Regions from separate parts of the Homo sapiens genome. Here region 1 is linked to region 2. The links are contacts of gene promoters, found by promoter capture Hi-C in blood cells and fetal thymus (Javierre and others, 2016). All regions are on one chromosome and are shown on one strand. Each heading gives the region's core, a stretch centred on a gene start or on the middle of the fragment in contact. The rest is flanking DNA. Distances are from core to core; before and after follow the strand shown.

Region 1 (3,456 bases), core at 640-3,139, 510 kb after region 2:
GACCTAGATGAGTTCCAAGATCTTTTCTGTAAAGATCCAAGTTCTCTTTCTGTATTTCTGGGTCTCTTTCTGTAAAAGTCCATGTTCTCTTTCTGTATTTGTGGGTCTCTTCCCACATTATCCCAACAATGGGACAGTGTCCCTGAGCCTGTGCTCCATTCCCTGGATTGGCCTCTGGTTACTGAATCTTCTATGATGTGTTAGATGATAGAAGTTGTCACATAAACTTATCATTGTCCTAGGGGACTTTCTTGGACAGATATAGTATTTTAAAACATACAAGATAGGTTTTCTAACACTGGAAATTCAAACAGTGGACAGAGCGTTGGGGGAGACTACGTGTGTGTGACAGATTGAGCCAGGGCTGGAGGGGCATGGTGAGAAGAGCAAAGCCCTGCCAGCCATCCCTTAGATCTTCCACGGCCACTATGTTCAGACATACATATGCCCTTGTGTGGTCTGATGCTTTGTTCTAACACAATGGCTGTCACTCATTGAATACCTGTTGTGTACCAGGCATTGCTCTGGCTAGTCTCTAATCCTCATAGGAACCCTGCAAGGAGGGAGTTACAGTATTTATCACTTACAGTTTCAGATATTCCCAAGTACCCCAGAGGTCCATGTGGTGCAGCAACCTGCAATGTTGGGTTTGCTCCATTTGCTAAGAGGCTGGGTGCAGAGGGAAGCTGCCTGCCTGGTGAGGGAGGCTTGCTCACTGCTAAATGCCTGCAGCTCGATCCCTCAGAAGTCATGACTCTTGAAATAATAGTTTAGTTCTTTGGTGGAAAATGGCCTCTGAAAAAAAGCCAGTTACTAGTGTTGAGGATGTAGGTGAAAAGAAAATAATGAGGGCCAAGAAGGTGGACCAGAAAATAGAAATTTGAGATAAAAACTGGGAGGTTGGATTTAGCAGTGGCTCAGGTTCATAATGCAACTGAGAGAGCTCACCACATTTTCTTTATAGAAATGAGACAAAGTGATTCAAAGGCACTGTAAGGAATGTTCCAGCCTGTGCAAATGATAACATTTGACTACCATGTGGAAGGCACTCAAAATGCAGGTTACATGGAGTGTGGGTCATGAAGGCCAATGAGCCCCAAAGCCCCATTCTCAAGGAGTTTACGTCTAGCAGAGACACAGACAAATAAATGGCCAAATATTCTAGAAAATTCTATAAGATAAATACCCATGACTGGGATGCTTAAAGGGCTATCATAATTCACAGGATTCATTTCTAACTTAGGTCATTCAGGAAGGCCTCTTGGAGGAGGGATTTATTAAGCTAGATTTTATAAGGTTAGTAGGATTTAGATGGGAGGAGGGCATTTTGGGCAAAGGGACTAGCATGAGACAAGGTCTGCTTGTTAGATGGTCTGGATATGGCTGGCACATGGTAGATAGACCAGTTTGGCTTCAGTGTAGAATTCATGGAAGTATTATTAAAGAAAGGCCTAGAGGAATAGGTGCTTTGCTTTATGGGAAGTCCTCGAGTGCCAGCCTAGGGAGTTTGGGTAAGCTATATTATGCTGTAAAAACAAATAAGTCTAAAACCTCAGAAGCTTAAATCAACAAAGCTCAATTTTTGCTCATGCTACAAGTCCATCACAGGTCAGCAGGAAGCCTGCTTCCTGTCCTTCTCACTCCAGGATCATGCTGATGGAGCTCCCACCTTCTGAAATGTACTTTGAGACAGTTGGAGGGAGAAGACATAGAAATTTGCACATCAGTACTTAAAGGCTTCCACTTAAAAGTAGCGTGTCAGCTGGGTGCAGTGGCTCATGTCTGTAATCCCAGCACTTTGGGAGGCCAAGGCAGGTGGACCTCTTGAGGTCAAGAGTTCCAGACCAGTCTGGCCAACATGGTGAAACCCCATCTCTACTAAAAATACAAAAATTAGCCAGGCATGGTGGCACGTGCCTATAATCTCAGCTACTCAGGAGGCTGAGGCGTGAGAATCACTTGAACCTGGGGGATGGAGGTTGCAGTGAGCAGAAATCATGCCACTGCACTCCAGCCTGGGACACAGAGTGAGACTCCGTCTCAGAAAAAAAAAAAAAAAGTCGTGTGTCATTTCCACTCACATTTTGTTGGTCAAGGTTAGTCATATGGTCGTGGGAAGAGGAGGGAAAGACATTCCCACCATGGGCCTGGAATGAAGAGGACTGGGATATCGGTGAAAATCATTGATTGCCACAAGTAGAGAGGGTGTGGGTGGGCTTCTAAGCTTTTGTATCTGACAGTGACATGACCCCTTGAGCTTCCTGCTTCATAGGTACGTTATTGTCCATACTGAATGCACTGAAATGGCCTGCTCCGTGTTGGTCTCCCGGGGATCAGTTCTTATTCTTATTTGTTCTTCAGGGGTCCACGGATTGGGTGCTTAAGCGGGATTTGTAATATAGATAAATGAATTTATTTTTTGAAGGATGGATTTGGAGAGAGGATAGATCGGAGCCTGAGGAAGTCAATTATTATATTTCTCCCAGTTAAGTTTGAAGAAAGAAAGATACTCTCCGCAGAGCTGTTTTGGCCTTTTTATTGGGAAACATTTTGTCACTCAAATGCTAATAATTAGAAATAAAGCAAAATACTTATTTTGCTAATAATTAGAAATAAAGCAATCAGTGCTAATAATTACAAATAAAGCAAAATACTTACTTCCTGGAAACCTGAAAACTGCTTGTGCCTCTTGCCATGCTCTTCCCTAAGGGGCCTATGCCCAATTTCCCCATAGAATGAAACATTTGGGAATTGTTCCAATCTAGTTTGGTGTGTCTGGAGTGCTGGCCTTTTTCCTGTCCCTGGTCTAATGGGTACATGAGTCTGGTAGCTTCTGGCTCCAGAAGGATTGATGTGGTCAGCCTTGGCAGTGACAACTCATAAGATCAAAGTGTCTTTTGAAAACAGCATTGCTACTGACAGCCCCAAGCTTGATTAAATTGTGACTGGATTAGAGGGCCCCAGTGCAATTAGCTGCTTCTCTAGCTTCCCCTCCTCCCACTGTGGGCAGAGGCTGCCATGCAGGGCAAGATGCAGGCAGGGGTATAAATCCCCTCTGTCTTGCATGGGGGGTAACTTGATTTCTATCTAGTCAAAGGCACGCTTGGGCCGCCTGTGTCGCAGTCTGTGTTACTCTCTGCTTTTTGGCAGCCCCAGCAGCATTCTAATGGTTTCACCTGCCATAGAGAAGCTTTGGTTAAGAGCGAGGGCAGGGGCAGTGCAACCTGGGGTTGGGGTCCAGGCTGGGGGAGAAGATGGATGAGAGGGAAGATGGCAGGGAAGGGATGAAAGGGAAAGTAAGGCTGAAGAGAGCCTAGCTCATTCCAGAGGGGCTGTTAATAACCGCTGCACCTGAGATTCCTGCATCAGGTCTACTAGATGTAAAACTCAAAGATGTTGAACTTGTGTTGGGGAGGAGAAAAGACAATATATGTATTTTTTGGTAGAATTGTGAGC
Region 2 (3,609 bases), core at 1,077-3,576:
ATCCCATTTTAGAGAGAAAGGTGCTAAGGCTCAGAGAGGTTCACTAGCTTGCCTAAGGTCACACAGCTACTAGGTGAAAAATTGGGAACCAAACTCAGCACACTACCTCTTCCTGCCTCCTCTTCCTCCTGGTGCTCTTTTCACTATATTAAAGCAACAATATTATAAATTTGAGTAAGGGCTTTTCTGGAAGTGTTCTGCAGCTCAGCCCCATATAAATTTGGACTAGTCCCTGCCTTCTTTTGAGCCTCAGTTTACACATCTATAAGATGAGAGCCTAAGATGCTGTTTCAGGTCCTTAGGATGCTAACATTCCAAGATTCCAGCCCCCATGGAATTTTAACTAGATCTTCTTTCTCTGGCTCTTACTTTAGTTCTCTCCCTAAATCCTTCTAGCTTCAACCCTTTTATTCACCCCAACTGTCTCCAAGGGTCTCTTTGGCATTAATGAAGCCACAGTCTCACAGACCTTGGGGGGCCCACGAATCTGGCTGAAAATGAGCATGCACCTCTTACAAATGAACTAAGATGTAAAGGAAAAAGCAATTCTCAGCTCTGAATGGGACTGAGGTGGGAATTGAGGAGGCTTTTCACATCTGGAGCCCAACCATAGACTAGAGATCAAATGCCCAGGTCACAGCATTGGCCACCGCTCTCACTCTGTCATCAGACTGGCCCAAAGAACTTGAACATCACCTCGGGAACATTTCCATGGCCCTCACCCCAAGTCCAAGTACAACCTACGTTTGCTATTACACACATCATGCAGTATTATAATGTGCCTGTGTAACAAGCCTGCCCCAGTCCCAAAGGGCAGAGACTGTGTCTCATTCATATTTGTATTCCCAGTGCCCAACACCATGCCTGCCTCATAAAAACTACCCTGAATGAATGTGCAAACTCCCAGGTCTAACACCTCCTGGTGACAGAGATCACTTCTACCTTGCAGTGTGTCACCATGCCTCCCAGGGGGTTCTGCCCAGCCAAGTTAGGCAAGCTTTAGTCCCAAGCCTTCAGATGAATTGGTCCACGGAGGAAGTCTGGAGAGCAGGGACTTTTCAATTTTCAAAACCTTATAAGAATTTCTGCTGTCTTGCCTGCCAGAATCTTTCTTTGGCTCCCAGCAACATAAGCTGCATGCCTCCAACTGACAAGCGACAGGCCAGTTGGTCAGCTGTTGCTTCCATTTACTCAGAGCTGGGCGGCTGTACTGTTTCTGTCACTAAATCAAGGGATCCTTGGGACGGATGTGCTTGGGCGTTAAGGCAGCCTGAGGACCTAGTCTCCGGAAGCTTCTGTGAAGTGTGACTGGGCTGCCCTGCCTGGCACGGTGACTTGAATCTTCAGTTTGCCAATTCTCTAAGAGCCCCAACCCCCCATCCCCAGATCTCTACCCCCAGAGTGGAAGTGATTGCAGCAACTCTTGCAGTAGAATTGGGGGCAGCAGCAGGGGAGGAGAGAAGAGGCTATTAGCAAATCAAAGGAAAGAAAACAGGGGAAGGAAAACACAGTAGCAAATTAAAGCACTATGTTTTCTTTTTAAAAATCCAATTAAAGGGAAATCTGCTTTTGAGTAAAACAATCATGCCCTTGTTACAAAGTATCCCAGGAACCCTCAAGATAGGCAAAACCTTTTTAATCACATTTTTTCTCATTACAAGTTGGCTAATAGGAACATCATAGTAATTCCCCGTTAACTCTTCCACTTTTCACACCCGCACAAACACACTGGGTTATAACAATGCTCTTATTCTATCTTTGTCTCAGACACATTCTCAAGCATGTTGGTTTACTCTCTCCTTAGAATATCCCCGTATCCTCATTCTGATATGCAAACGTATCCTCACCTACAGACCATTCTTTCCTCCTCTCCTCTCTCATGCACGCGTGCACACACACGCTGAAACGCTATATACACACTATATATGCATATAAACATATATGTTCTCCTTTTAATTCAATACTAATCCAGTCATTCGTATTTCCCAATTTCTTCTCAGTCTCTCATACAGGTCCACGCAGTGAAGCCCAAGGGAGATACTTACCTCCATAGCCTGCGGGAAACTTCATGAAGTGAGAATAATTTCCATACATGTTTACTCGTCAGTTCATGTTCCTCTCCTGTGCAGCTTCTAAATATTACCGCCTCTCTCGGCTCCCAGGCACAGCCCGGCTTTCTTCAACTTGGGCTAACAAGAGTGGTCATCGCTTCCTAGCAGCCCGGGGAGCACAGGCTGGGCCAGCCCTCTGGGATTAGTCAGGAATCTGCCTCTAGATCGGAGAGTCCACATAGTGCGTTTGAGACGGCTGTGGCGGCAGCAGCTGGTGCCTGTCAGTAATCACGCATAATGCTGCCGCCGCCGCCGCCGCCGCCGTCACCGCTACTCTTGCCACCGCCGTCGCTGCTGCTTGAGATCCTGTTGCTAGTTTGATTAACTCAGGGTTGGGCTGCTGCGTGCGACTCTTCCAGCTCCCGGCGCGTCCCCAGAGGTCCCTACCGGGTGGCACGATCTATTATCTAGGAAGCCAATCGATGTATGACCGCCCGGTGTAGGTCAGGAGAGAGGCGGGAGACGGCAGGGGATGGAAGACTCTTTAGGTGCCTGTTCCTTGACTTACATCCACAAAAATCAATGGGATTTTATTAAAATGCATTTTCTCATTCGAACTTCTATCTGTCCAATGTACTTGGTATTTGATCTGTGAAAGGAGGAGGGGGTGGGGTTCAAGAGAGAACAGGGCCCTTTCAGAAGCACAAGATTAGAAAAGCGTGATACTCAATCTCCAGCTACGGAAAACTAAAATAGAGTAGCCCTTAAGTTGAGGTGGGCCTCTCCTGCTTGGGTGGCCGGAAGCATTTATCTGTGCTCTAACAATGGGAGTTTGACAAGTGCAGCTGGAGCCAGAGCTCACTCAGGTGGAAAACTTACAGGTAGGGAGGAGGGGTTGGCTTGATGTGGAGGTCTTTCTCTGCATTTATTTTATATACCATTGTTATCCTGCCGCCTGTTCAAAAACACCACTGGGTCCTCACTAACACAGAGCCTGTCTTGTGTGGAACTGACCCGAGATCAAAGAATCTAAGCACCCCGTTGATGTTTGGGTCTGTCATACAGTTTTCGTGACAAGTCACCGCTCAGCCTATACTTGAACACCTCCAATAATGGGGAGCTCACCACTTTCTCATTCCATTTCTAGATAGTTTTCACCACAAGAAAGTTTCTTATAGAGATAAAATCTGCTCCTTTTCCCTACAGCTTCTGCCCACAGGTGCTAGACTGCTCCCAGGGGCCACACAAGAGAAGCCTGAAAGACAAAAAAGTCTTTCACAGTGGGATCCTCTGCAAATCCTGAGATTGATCTGCTGTGCCCATAATCCCCCTTTCCCTAGGCATCTCTGGCTCTTTCAGTAATTCTATGTATCACCAAGGGTTCATGTCTATTCCCAACCTATCCTTTTTCTAATAATGTACTTCAGTTTACATAGATACCCTCACAGTGAGGAAGGGGGTTGGCCAGACTTGGATGCAATACTCCAGATATGGTCCAAACCTTTTCCTCATGGTATATGTGTTGGCACGGTGATGGGGTGCTGTCAACATACCCATT

What was found. The method cuts DNA at HindIII sites, captures the fragments that hold promoters and counts their contacts. A CHiCAGO score of 5 or more calls a contact.
Region 1: a fragment that was not itself captured here is called in contact with the fragment with the promoter of RXRG in region 2 in 1 of 17 cell types (naive B cells); the score reaches 5.8 in naive B cells.

The regions. Positions count from the first base shown.
Region 1 is chr1:165,955,611-165,959,066 of GRCh38, forward strand. No RefSeq gene overlaps it. Among named protein-coding and RNA genes, the nearest start is that of MIR3658, 49 kb to the left of the region's middle. The HindIII fragment of the contact is 665 bases long and covers 1,558-2,222 here.
Region 2 is chr1:165,442,800-165,446,408 of GRCh38, forward strand. It overlaps RXRG (retinoid X receptor gamma), which reads right to left and starts at 2,327. Exons shown (of 10, transcript NM_006917.5): 1 at 2,046-2,327. The coding sequence starts at 2,094. The HindIII fragment of the contact is 7,493 bases long and covers 1,291-3,609 here.